Linked DNA regions of Homo sapiens: all the other regions are linked to region 1. The links are contacts of gene promoters, found by promoter capture Hi-C in blood cells and fetal thymus (Javierre and others, 2016). All regions are on one chromosome and are shown on one strand. The core of a region is centred on a gene start or on the middle of the fragment in contact, and the rest is flanking DNA. Distances in the headings are between cores, read along the strand shown. Region 1 holds the start of PARN (poly(A)-specific ribonuclease). Region 2 holds the start of CEP20 (centrosomal protein 20). Region 3 holds the start of NDE1 (nudE neurodevelopment protein 1).

Region 1 (4,364 bases), core at 754-3,253:
TTTTAAGAAATAAAAATTTTTAGCTTACTAATAAATACTAACGTAAAAATGCCAGTCAATCATTCAGTGCCTCTATAATGTCGTATCACGAATTAAGGTTACTTGGAAGCACTCCCTAACTTACTTTTTTAAAATAAGCATTAATTTCAGTGGCCACCAGGTTAAACCCTCTAATAATGAACTTAGAGATGCGAATGTTTCAACATGAGAATAGGCAGTTCCAGCGTCTAAAACATGACTTAAAACACAGTAATCATGTAAGAAAACAATCTCTATGCTTGAATAAGTTTTGCTGCTTTAAAAGATTCCTGTATAAACAGACATCAATAAATCCCTAAGTATATTATTGCCAGAGTTCCAGTCTTGGTCAAGAGTTTGGAGTGGTTAATATCTATGCAAAGAATGTATCTTCAAGATTAAGAGAAAATTATTTCTCTAAGTGAAAACTCTTAGCTTCCTAGGGAAGTGATTCCAACTAGACACTACCTAAAGCCAAGGATACTATTTACCCCTGCATGGATTCCTTCATGATTCAAACATGGAAAATCAGACAGCAAAAATGGATATCCATATCAAAGGGAGTGAACCGTTCATATTGACATCAGCAATTTAAAAACTAGTCTTTGCTCCCCCTAAAAAAGGGGAAAAAAAATTTGCAACTTTAAGTGTCAGTGAAGTATTTCCTGTATACACACCTGTTGAGGCAGGCAATGAACACGTCCACTAATGCATAAAGAAATATCTCATTTATCTGCAAAAACCTGACCCTAGCCGGTCACAAAAGGGCAAATATTGTAAGATTCCACTTATATGAGATGTTAAGGGCAGTCAAATTCAGAGACAAATGGCGGTTGCTAAAGGCTGGGCGAAAGGAGAAATGGGGAGTTTAATGTGTAAAGAGTTTCAGACTGTGAAGATGAAGAAGTCCTAGAGATGGATGGTGATGTTTGCACAGCAATGTGAATGTACTTAATGCCACTTAACTGTAAAGCCACTTAAAATGGCAAATTTCATGTTATACCTATTTTACAATCAAGAAAAAAAACAGTCTGACCCTAATCCTCAAGCTCTCTGCAATGTACACGCCGCACTGTTTTAAGCAGCATCAAAACCATCATCTCTATCTGAGATCCTGAGTCCAATCACAAACCTACGGCGTATCTTCATTTCTTTCGTGCTTTTGAAACGTTTAAAGGGTAACACTGAGACCTGTGAAACCCGCCCAAGGCTACTAACAGCAAGAGGCCACCACCAAGCATAAGAAGTTGGGGGCTGGGGGATTGAAGGAGCCTTGGCTATGCACTGCAAAGTGCTAGCCTGAGCTTGCAAGGGAGGGATACCTGAAAACTCCCCATCGATGGCGAAGAAGTCGGCCTCCTCTATGGCCTGGTACACTTTGTGAAGATTACTCTTAAAATCTGCGGAGAAACCGAAAAGAGGCTCAGAACCAGTGGCCTGAATTCCTGCTAAGGGGAGAGGGAAGGAGGGCCGAGGAGCTCCCGAGGCTGAGAGCCGGAAGGGGAAAAGTCCCGGAGGTGTGCACCGGGGCGAGGGGAATCAAGTCCTCGAGGGGTGCATGGGTCAGGGGGGACAAGCCCCGGGGGGTGCCCGGCCCGGAGAAGGACAAGGCCCCGGATGGTGCCGGGGTTGGAGGAGTAAGTACAAGGCTCCTAGGGTGCACGGTCCGCAGCCGGAAAAGACCCCAAGAGGCGCACCGGCTTAAGGAGGGAAAAGCCCTGAGGGGCTGCCTCAGCCCCAGGCCCAGCCAAACACGCCGGCCATGGTCTCGGCCTAGCAGGCCAGGGGCAGCCGGGTGTGGGGAGGCGGGGAGGTGTACGGCGGACACGCACTGCTCCTGATTATCTCCATTCTGCAGAGTGGCCGGAACCTTGGCCCCACCCGGGCCCGCGCCCGCCTCAGCGGTTCTACTCGCCGAATTCCGCGGCGACTGCGGCAGTAGCTGAGGCAGCCGCAGCGGTGACGCCGGCCGCGACTTCCGGAAACAGCGCGCGCCTGCTGCGCTTGCGTCAGCGCCTGCGCGGCGGCGGGGGCGGGGCCAAGGCTGGGCTCCTTTCCCTCCTTATAGGGACAGGGGAGGGGCGTGGCTATCGAAGTCCCCAAGGCGTGGCCTAATTTGTGCGGGCTTTCACTTCAGTAGAAAAAATGTGCATGTCTCGACATCCAGTCGACCAGGAAATACTGACTGGGTTTCTGTGATATGCTAGCCACTCTTACAGGGGTGGAGATACAGTGATGAACAGGAAGACGTGCTCCCTGCCCCATTGTAGCTTAAACTTGGGGTAAGGGGAAATTCAGGCAGGAGTGAAACTTGCCATTTGGTAACACATGAAAATCGCTATTAAGAAAAAGAGCGGGGCGATGTAATAGAGAATAATGGGATCCGGGTGCGGTGGCTCACGCCTGTAAGCCTAACACTTTGGGAACCCGAGGCGGGAGGATCCGTTGAACTGAAGAGTTCGAGACCAGCCTGGACAGCATAGTGAGACCTGTCTCTTAAAAAAATAAAATTAGGCCGGACCCGGTGGCTTATGCCTGTAATCCCAGCACTTTGGAAGGCCGAGGCGGGCGGATCACGAGATCAGGAGTTCGAGACCAGCCTGGCCAACATAGTGAAACCCTGTCTCTACTAAAAATATAAAAATTGGCTGGGCTTGGTGACTCATGCCTGTAATCCTAGCGATTTGGGAGGCAGAAGCGGGCGGATTACCTGAGGTCAGAAGTTCAAGAGCAGCCTGGCCAACATGGTGAAACCCTGTCTCTATTAAAAATACAAAAAATTAGCCGGGTGCAGTGGTGCGCGCCTGTAATCCCAGCTATTCGGGAAGCTGAGGCAGGAGAATCTCTTGAACCTGGGAGGCGGAGGTTGCTGTGAACCGAGATCACGCCACTGCACTCCAGCCTGGGTGACAGAACGAGACTTGTTTTCAAAAAAAAAATTAAATTAAATTAAAAGAATAATAGGGGTTGTTACTTAGGTGATCACGGAAAGCAAAGCTGAGACCCTTAGCTACTGCATTAGCCTCTGGGAATACTATGTCGAGTGCAACATATGAGGCCCGGCCCTAATGGAATTGTATGTTGGTTTGGGGTTGCTGTTCTCCAATGCCTAGCACTGGGCTGACACGTAGTAGACACTCAATAAGCATGGGTTGAATGAATACATTCAGGTTGGTCTTTCACAAAAGCCAACTATGAAAAGTTGGTTAGTGCCGGATGCGATGGCTCACGCCTGTGATCCTGGCACTTTGGGAGGCCGAGGCAGGCGGATTGCTTGAGGCCAGGAGCTCGAGACCAGCCTGGGCAACACGGTGAAACCCCATCTCTACTAAAATACAAAGAATTAGCCTGGCGTGGTGGCGCACCCCTGTAGTCCCAGCTACTCGGGAGGCTGAGGCAGGAGAACTGCTTGAACCCGGGAGGCGGAGGTTGCAGTGAGCCAAGATTGTGCCACTGCACTCCAACCTGGGCGACAGAGCGAGACTCCGTCTCCAAAACAAACAAACGAACAAAAGGAAAGTTGATTAGAAGACCTATTTTCAAAATCTATCTCAGCCACTTATTAGTTCTGGAATGCATTAAACCTTCCTAAACCTCAATTTCCTGGGATTGTATTGAGGCTCAGTGGTGCTAATGAATGTGAACTGGGAAGCAGCGTATTAATAAATCTGTATAAATAACTGTTTAATGGGGGCCTGGCGCCATGACTCACACCTGTAATCCCAGCGTTTTCGGGGGCTGAGGCAGGAGAATCGCCTGAACCCAGGAGTTCCAGACCAGCCTGGGGAAAAGAGCGAGACCCTGTCTCCATAAAAATAAAATGAAATTTTAAAATGAGCCAGGCGTGGTTGTGCACGCCCGTAGTCCCAACTATTCACGAGGCTGAGGTGGGATAATCGCTTGAACCCGGGAGGCGGAGGTTGCAGTGAGCCAAGATCGTGCCACTGTACGCCAGCCTGGCGGGTGAGAGTGAGACTCTGTCTCAAAAACAAACAACAACAACAAAACAAAACCAAATAATCAGCATAAGTTCTAGACGCTGTGACCTAGACGCTGGGAAGGGGCGAAACGTGGTGATAAGAAAACCATTTCAAGCTGTACGAGGTGGCTCACGCCTGTAATCGCAGCACTTTGTAAGGCTGAGGCAGGAGGATCCCTTGACGCCATATGTTCAAGATCAGCCTGGAAAACGCAGCGAGACCCCATCTCTACGAAAAAAAAAATATTTTAATAGAAATAAAAGTCATTTAATTCCGATTCTTAACACCGTAAATTGAACGTATAGTCCTGTGATTTTCTACATAAAATGTGAAGGCAAAAAATAACTGTAGAGAGTACGGTGCGGC
Region 2 (4,364 bases), core at 1,385-3,884, 1.3 Mb after region 1:
TCAAACAGTTCCTACTGGCTAAATGACAACTTCAGAGAATGAACACATCTCATCCACAGAGTCAAGAACAGAGCAAGAGCTCAGTAGGTGTCACCTAGAAGGATTATAATACATTGCTGTACACTACTGGGAAATCAATGTAGTTTAACACTGTTCTGCACCCTGCCAAAGGCACCAAGTAAGTACATCACAATAACAAAAATCCATAAAGAGAGCCCAGGAGCTTATCCAAGTCAGTATGGACATAAGATCTTTCTAAGCTTCAATAAATAACGTCAACAATAACCCTGGATCATATGACTAAAGAGATAGAATCTTCACTGACTTTTGACCTTTCTTTCCCCTCATTTTTAAAGCATCCCTTCAACCTTCTTGCAGATAGGTTAAGTACAGTTATCACCAGATCAGAGTTTGTAACAGGTCCATAAAAGGAAGGTACAGCCTTATTGTACTCTTAGAATCATAACTGAACCCCTATTCTCTAATTCCATCTTTGGAAATTGGATGGAGAGATTTTGTCACTGGCAAGGATCCTGTCCCAATTACTCTGTATTGCACACAGGACAGCCTCAAACTGGACAGAGAAACGAGAATTAGTGACAGTGGAATGAGGAAAGCTAGCATGTCTCATCAGCACCTCAGTGGTGGATTACCAACCCATGCCTCAGTTGCCTTCTCTAAAATAATGAGCTCTACCTCTCAGAGATAGAACCAAGTAAGAAGGAAAAACGTGATCGTGCTTAAAAAAGGTAAATGCCCATAAAATGTAAGGTAACTGGCTGGCAAACAAGTTTTCACCGGGTTTCTTTTGGAGGTCCATAGCATTTTACCTTTCCCTCTATTATGCTTAGAACACTGCGCCATCAAAACTTCTTCGGAAAGGTCTTAACCTCGCTTATATTTCAAGAGTACCTTTTTTATTTTATTTTTTAATTTGTTTTTTTTTTTGAGACAAGGTCTCATTTTGTTGCCCAGGCTGGAGTGCAGTGGCACCACTGTAGCTCATTGTCACCTCTATCTCCTGGGCTCAAGCTATCTTCCTGTTTCAGCCTGTGGGGTAGCTGGAACTACCACAGGCCACTATGCCCGGCTCTTTTTTTTAATTTTTATTTTTTAAATAAAGATGGGGTCTCACCATGTTGGCCAGGCTGGTCTTAAACTTCTGGGCTCAAGCGATCCTCCCAAAGTGTTAGGATTACAGGCATGAGCCACTGTGCTTGGCCCATTCCAAGTGTACCTTTAAATCCTCTGAAAATGTATGCAATATTACATGTGATGTGTATTTCCCTGGGAACAGCATCTGTAGACTCGTGAAGTCTGTTCTTGTGGACAGATGCATGCCTGTTCTGTTTTATGATTGTTCACCAGCCCTGTCCCCAAATACACACTTTTATACACGTCTCCTCCCTAAAATATCTAAGAATTACTAGTTTAAACCCTGGGTTCCCTGCAAAGTGGAACTGGTTTTATTTTTTGGACAGCAATCTTGCTCAGTGATTAAGACCTGGCGCTCCAGTGCGTCACAACTAGGTTCCCATGCTGTGTCTCTTTCCAGTGAAATCACTTTGAGCTATTTCACTTCTCAGTACCTCGTTTCCCAGTCTATGAAATGGGCATAGGGTTGTTACAATCAGGTAACACACAGGCTGAGTTGAGTAGTGCCTGACACATGAGGCTCAATGATAACTATTATTACTATTACTTGTCTGGACATTTGCTTCAAAGTAAACAGCGTACAAATGTCATTAATGACTCAAACATAACTAGCTTAGAGTATCTTTTCCTGAAAAGACAGGAGAATGGCCAGGCCAGCAAACTTTTTGCCTCTAGTTTCTTCTGATGAAAAAGGGGCCAGGCGCTCACACCTGTAATCCCAGCACTTTGAGGGGGCCAAGGCAGGAGGATAGCTTGAGACCAGGAGTTCGACAGTAAGACCCCGTGTCTACAAAAAATACAAAAATTAGCCGGGCGTAGTGAAGAGCCCCTGTATTCCCACCTGCTCTGGAAGCTGAGGTGGGAGGATAGCTGGAGTCCCGGAGTTCGAAGCTGCAGTGAGCTGTGATCGCGCTACTGCACTCCAGCCTGGGCGACAGAGAGACCCTCTCTTTAAAAAAAAAAAAAAAAAGCAAGGAGGGGAGGGCTACTTAACAGGTTGTTGTAAGGACCCAACGAGACAACCAAGCAAATTGTTTAGGGCAGTGCCTAACCCAATAGGGGTTGTGGGAATTGTAGTCATCAGCCCTGAGTGCCAAGCCTGGTCCAAGTCCTCCAGCCCCCGGCAGGGTCCAAGAAGATGAGCCAGGGGCCCAAGATGCAGGCCTGTAGGCCTCTTAGATGCCTGAAGATTACGCAACTCCTCCTTTAGCTCCAAACTGGCTTAAAACTCGCCAGTGGGCAACCTCTTCCCCATAAGAGCTCCCCGCGCACGGGCCAAGACAGCAGCCAGACGCTCCCCGCAGGCCCTCACACCGAAGAATGACGCCTGTAAAAGCCAACCCATGTGTTCCGCGCGCTCTCCTCCCATCCCATCCTTTCCACAAGATGAAGGCCCGACGCTTCCCATGTGGAGGCCTCCCTGCTCGCACTCACCAGCCTTCAACTCTGCCACAGTCGCCATTTTTCAACGGCCGCCAGGGCCGCACCGCGGCCCTGCGCACGCGCAGCTCCGCCCCACTCACCCTGCGGCGTGGTCTGTAGCCAATAGGCGCACAGCTCTCGCCCCGCCCACTTCCGCCCCTCTCAGTTTATGAGCTCTGCGGTTGAGTGGGTAGTGAATGTCGACCAGAGACTCCACCAATCAGCGAGCGCTCTCGGAAGGCCCAGTTGAGTGAGACGGCAGGGAGGGCGGGGACTGAGGCAGTGGAGAGCCCTGTGGGGTGCTGCTGGCACCTTAGTGCTTAACTTTAGCCAGCTGAGTTTTTCATTGTCTCTGCAGCCTCAAGTACCAACTGCTAGTAGTTACCACCTATTAACCCTGCGGTTCTCAAACTTGAGCATGAATCCTCATCACCTCCAAGACTTGTTTAAACGGATTGTTTGCTAGTCCTCCCCATAGAGTTTCTGATTCTGTAAATCTGGGGTGAGGCCCTAGGATTTGCATTTCTATCGAGTTCCCAGGTGGTACTGGTACTGCTGGTCGGTCTGGAGATCACACCTCGAGAACCACTGTATTAAGCACTTACTGTGACGCCTTAGCGCATTATTTCCTTATGATCACGCCGTTTTTACAATGAAGGAAACAGAGTCCTCCATCGCTGAAGAGACTTAACCAAGGTCACCAGCCTGTCCTCTTCCACTCGCACTTACACAGTGCATGTAAGGAGTCCAGGAGCTTTTTATGGAACTAACTAATGAAGGAATAAGCTCCAACATCCCATGGAAGTAAAGGAAAAGGAACAGGGGAATAATGTACCCTAAACTGAGTGTGAGGTTGCATGATTCCAGTTGTAATGCCGGTGAGATCCAAACACTTGGCTAAATAATAAACATCGATTAGACGTACACCTAAGAGTGGCCGGGCGCGGTGGCTCACGCCTGTAATCCCAGCACTTTGGGAGGCCGAGGCGGGCGGATCCCGAGGTCAGGAGATCGAGACCATCCTGGCTAACACGGTGAAACCCTGTCTCTACTAAAAATACAAAAAATTAGCCGGGCGTGCTGGCGGGCGCCTGTACTCCCAGCTACTCGGGAGGCTGAGGCAGGAGAATGGCGTGAACCCGGGAGGTGGAGCTTGCAGTGAGCCGAGATGGCACCACTGCACTCCAGCCTGGGCGACAGAGTGAGACTCCGTCTCAAAAAAAAAAAAAAAAAAGTACACCTAAGAGCTGCCAGGGCACGGTGGTTTACGCCTGGAATCCCAGCACTTTGGGAGACTGAGGTAAGGAGTTCGAGAACAGCCTGGCCAGCCTGGTGAAACCCCCTCTGTACTAAAAAAAAAGTACAAAAATTAGCCGGGCGTGGTAGCAGGAGCCTGTAATCCCAGCTACTTGGGAGGCTGAGGCACAAGAATCGCTTGAACCTGGGAGGCAGAGGTTGCAGTGAGATGAGATCGCGCTACTGCACTCCAACCTGGACGACAGAGCGAGACACCGCCTCAAAAAAAAAAAAAAAAAAAAACCACCTAAGAGCAAGGAAACCTCTTTCCGAGGAACTTCCAGCATACTTTTGGTTCCATGCCTATTGTTTTTAAAACTGATACATTGGCCAGGTGCGGTGGCTCATCCCTGTAATCCCAGCACTTTGGGAGGACGAGGAGGGAGGATTGCTTAAGCTCGGGAGTTTGAGATCAGCCTGGGCAATGCAAGACCCCATCTCTCCAAAATAAATACAAAAAATTAGCCGGGCATGGTGGTGCATGCCTGTAG
Region 3 (4,364 bases), core at 889-3,388, 1.0 Mb after region 1:
TATGGGGTACATGAGATATTTTGATAACAGGCATGCAATGCATCATAATCACATCAGGGTAAATGGGTGTCCATGACCTCAAGCATTTATCCTTTCTTTGTGTTACAAGCACTCCAATTATACTCCTTTAGTTATTTTAAAATGTACAATACATTGTTGTGGACTGTAGTCACCCTGCTGTGCTCCCAAATACTAGATCTTATTCATTCTAACTCTATTTTTGTACCCACTAACCAGAATGTTCGGTATTTGTTAATGAACATGTTATGACAGGATGTTTTAGAAGAAAATAAAGAAAAAAAGAAATTCCAGCCAAGCATGGTGGCTTGATTTTATTTATTTATTTATTTTGAGATGAAGTCTCCCTCTGTCTCCCAGGCTGGAATGCAGTGGCGTGATCTCCACTCACCGCAACCTCTGCCTTCTGAGTTACATGGCTCACGCCTGTAATCCCAGCACTTTGGGAGACTGAGGTGTATTGCTTGAGGTCAGGAGTTCGAGACCAGCCTGGCCAACACAGTGAAACCGTGTCTCTACTAAAAATACAAAAAATTAGCTGGGCGTAATGGTGGGCGCCTGTAATCCCAGCTACTAGGGAGACTAAGACAAGAAAATCGCTTGAATCTGGGAGGCAGAGGTTGCAGTGAGCCGAGATCGCACCATTGCACGCCAGCCTGGGCAACAAGAGGGAAACTCTGTCTCGAAAAGAAAAAAATTATTTTTTAATTTTAATTTGTTAGTGAACAATTAGGGTTGCTGTGAGAATTGTGCCTGGCACACACAGCCATTTAAAAATCACGATCTTCAGGCAGTGTGTGGTGGCTCACGCCTGTAATCCCAGGACTTTGGGAGGCCGAGGTGGGTGGATCACCTGAGGACAGGGATTCGAGAGCAGCCTGGCCAACATGGTGAAACCCCGTCTCTACTAAAAATATAAAAATTAGCCGGGTGTGGTGATGCGGGCCTGTGATCCCAGCTACTCGGGAGGCTGAAGCAGGAGAATTGCTTGAACTCAGAAGGCAGAGGTTGCAGTGAGTGGAGATCACGCCACTGCATTCCAGCCTGGGAGACAGAGGGAGATTTCATCTCAAAATAAATAAATAAACAAAATCAAGATCATTTAACAAATACATATATTGTACTTACTAAGTTCAAATTTCTGTTCTAAACGTTTTTACAAATGCTGTTAAGTCATTTAGTCCTCTGCATAATGTCGTTTGTTTGTTTGTCTGTTCTTTAAGACGGAGTCTTGCCCTGTCGCCTAGGCTAGAGTGCAGTGGTGTGATCTCGGCTCACTGCAACCGCCACCTCCCGGTTTCCCGTGATTCTCCTGCCTCAGCCTCCTGAGTAGCTGGGATTACAGGTGCGTGCCACCACATCCGGCTAATTTTTTGTATCTTTAGTAGAGACGGGGTTTCACCATGTGCCAGGCTGGTCTTGAACTCCTGACCTCGTGATCCACCCGCCTTGGCCTCCCAAAGTGCTGGGATTACAGGCGTGACCACCGCGCCAGACCCATAATGGCGTTTTATAGATGGGGAAACGGAGTCATAGAGGCTAAACAACTTTCCCAAGACCACACAGTTAGTAAGGGGCAGGACTAGGACTCAAAGCCAAGTTTATGACCAAATTCTGGTGCACTACGTTCTCCTGCTTCTGGAGAAGATAATGATGCTGAAGATTCTACTTTTGGTGTAAAGGAGTAGGAAGGGCACGGGGCACTGCTAGCTTCAGTGGGCCTGAATCTTTGTCTTTCCTTCTGATTTGGAGAAAGTGCAAGAATGGGAAAATGCAATCGAAGTGAAGGAGAGGCCGGCGTATTTTCCTGAAATGCGCGGCCCGCAAGCCCAAACCCGTTTCCCGGGTGTCCAGGCAGCGTTCTGCAGCATCTCCAATGCCCGCCAGCCCGCCGCAGCCCAGCGCCCGGCAGCCGGCGCCTCTCAAACCCCCTCCGGCCAGGAGCCTTCGCCGCTTGGCCGCGCCGCGCCCGGCCTGGGAAAAAAGTTTCCAAACGACGCTGCTCTGCGCTGATTGGCCGAGGCGGACGCGGTACCGTAGAGCAGCAGCCAATGGGAGGCGCCGACCGCAGGCTCCGGGGCGGGGGCGGGGTCCGGAGGGCCGGGGCCGCACCGCCCTTCGCAGCCGCCTCTGCCGCCGCCGCCGCGTTGGCCTCGCCGCCCCTGCTCGGGTAAGTGAGGCGCTGCGCGGGGCTGGGGTCGGGGTGGCTGTCCGGGGACCTCCACCGCGGCTGAAAAGCTCCTCTGCCCCGCCCCAGGATCCCGGGACCCCGGGCCACCGCCTGGCAGGGACCCCTACGCCCCTCGCTTGCGCGTCGCTTCCCGGCCGCCTGGACTCCCCCGGTCCCTGGGCTCCAAAATCCCGCCTCCCTGGAGCCTCCCGTCCTAAAAAGTTAGGCACTGAGTGCCTTGCCACCGGTGCGTTCCTCGCGCTGGCCCCTCGCCCTTGGCAACTTTGTTTCTCTTTCTGCGTTGGTCTCTCTCCCACCCCGTTGCCCTCTTCTCCTTCCGGGACTTCCTGGGTGGTTAAGCCTTGCCGGTCCCCAAACCCCGCTGCCAGGCTCCATCCTCTTTCTCCTCTTCCTTCCTCCCCATACTCCTCTCCTAGATGACCCTCGTTTCTTTTCTCTCTCTCTCCTATTCCTCCATCCTGCCACCCGCTTCTCTGCGACCCCAGACCCCTCGATTGCAGCGTTGCCCCTGCCCTCACACCCACTGTCCCGCCCCTGCAGGCCTCTTTCCAAAAACCCACCCTGCTCCCTCCCTCCGGGAACACGTTTGGGGCAGTCTGCTCTCCGCTTTGCTCCCGTCTCTGCCGCAGGACGGTTCAGGTTTCTTCTGACAGCACTTTGGGGAGGGATTGGGTAAAGGACGAAAATGCTTATTCCGCAGCTTGAGTGATGGCTGGGCTCACTGAGGACCTGAGTCTCTGAGGTCCTGGGAAACCCCGCTGTCACCTTGACACCGCTTTTGGGGAGGCGACTTTATCTTCTCCGAGCCATCTCAGGCTTTCTGCCTCCTGAGGGCCTGAGCTTCCTTGATTGCTTTGTCCGTGGTTACTACCAGGTTGTGCCTCTTAATTTCTACTTTGAGCCTCAGGCCCCTTTTAACTTTCTAAAGAAAAGGCCTTTGCAGCACGACCTAGGCAGGTTCATCATTTTTAGTTTTGTTATAGTGTATTCTAGCATAGGATGGCATTTTAGGACATGGGTCGGGTGTTTTGAAGATTAATTAGATCCCAGCTACTCCTAAAGCCTCTTGTTACCCGACCACCCCAGCCTCCATCACCTCGTTGGTATACAACCCGTTTTTTTTTTTTTTTTTTTGTTTTTGTTTTTGAGACAGAGTCTCACTCTCGCCCAGGTTGGAGTGCAGTGGTGCGATTTTGGCTCACTGCAACCTCCGCTTCCCGGGTTCAAGCGATTCTCCTGCCTCAGCCTCCGGAGTAGCTGGGACTACAGGTGCGTGCCACCACGCCTGGCTAATTTTTTGTATTTTTAGTAGAGATGGGGTTTCACCGTGTTAGCCAGGATGGTCTCGATTTCCTGACCTCGTGATCTGCCCCCTCGGCCTCCCAAAGTGCTGGGATTACAGGCGTGAGCCACCGTGCCGGCCTACAACCCATTTTGAGCCTTTCCTCTTAGTGTGTGTTTTGTGTAGGATTAAATGCAGATGATCTGTGCCGCTGAAGTCTCAGGGGCCTGTGATTCATATATTTTATCCCATGTTGGATAACAGTTTATTAACTTGACTTATTTTTGTTTCCAAAGTGTGTTATTTATTATTTATTTATTTATTTATTTTGAGACGGAGTCTTGTTCTTGTCCAGGCTGGAGTGCAGTGGCATGATCTCGACTCACTGCAACCTCAGTCCTCCGGGTTCAAGTGATTCTTCTGCCTCACCCTCCTGAGTAGCTGGGATTACAGGTGCGTGCCACCATGCCCGGCTAATTCTTAGTAGAGATGGGGTTTCACCATATTGGCCAGGCTGGTCTCAAACTTCTGACCTCGTGATCTGCCCACCTCAGCCTCCCAAAGTGTTGGGATTACAGGCATGAGCCACTGCACCCGACTCTATCATTATTATTATTTTTTATGTAGAGGCAGAATCTTGCTTTGTTGCCCAGGCTGGTCTCAAATTCCTGGGCTCAAGCAGTCCTCCTGCCTTGGCCTCCCACAGTGCTGAGATTACTTGCAGGCATGAGCCACTGCATGCAGCCCAAAGTGTGTTCTTTTGCCTTAGAATGTGAGCCGAGAATTGACACTCCTTTTCCTCACAAGGTAATTTCCTAACATGAGCATTCCTGTGTACAGAAAGTTTGTGCCTGCAGTTAGTACTACACGTGC

The links. The method cuts DNA at HindIII sites, captures the fragments that hold promoters and counts their contacts. A CHiCAGO score of 5 or more calls a contact.
Region 2: a contact is called between the fragment with the promoter of CEP20 here and the fragment with the promoter of PARN in region 1, in 5 of 17 cell types (neutrophils, naive CD8 T cells, non-activated CD4 T cells and 2 more). The highest score is 8.8, in neutrophils.
Region 3: a contact is called between the fragment with the promoter of NDE1 here and the fragment with the promoter of PARN in region 1, in 6 of 17 cell types (activated CD4 T cells, naive CD4 T cells, fetal thymus and 3 more). The highest score is 10.1, in activated CD4 T cells.

What each region holds. Positions count from the first base shown.
Region 1 is chr16:14,628,257-14,632,620 of GRCh38, forward strand. It overlaps PARN (poly(A)-specific ribonuclease), which reads right to left and starts at 2,004. Exons shown (of 24, transcript NM_002582.4): 1 at 1,851-2,004; 2 at 1,341-1,418. The coding sequence starts at 1,869. RefSeq lists enhancers at 972-1,495, 1,496-2,017, 2,018-2,540, 4,140-4,364. The HindIII fragment of the contact is 4,468 bases long and covers 1-4,364 here.
Region 2 is chr16:15,885,969-15,890,332 of GRCh38, forward strand. CEP20 (centrosomal protein 20) reads right to left here and starts at 2,635. Exons shown (of 5, transcript NM_144600.4): 1 at 2,590-2,635. The coding sequence starts at 2,617. The HindIII fragment of the contact is 7,894 bases long and covers 259-4,364 here.
Region 3 is chr16:15,648,107-15,652,470 of GRCh38, forward strand. It overlaps NDE1 (nudE neurodevelopment protein 1), which reads left to right and starts at 2,139. Exons shown (of 9, transcript NM_017668.3): 1 at 2,139-2,188. RefSeq lists enhancers at 1,840-2,341, 2,342-2,841. The HindIII fragment of the contact is 10,572 bases long and covers 1-4,364 here.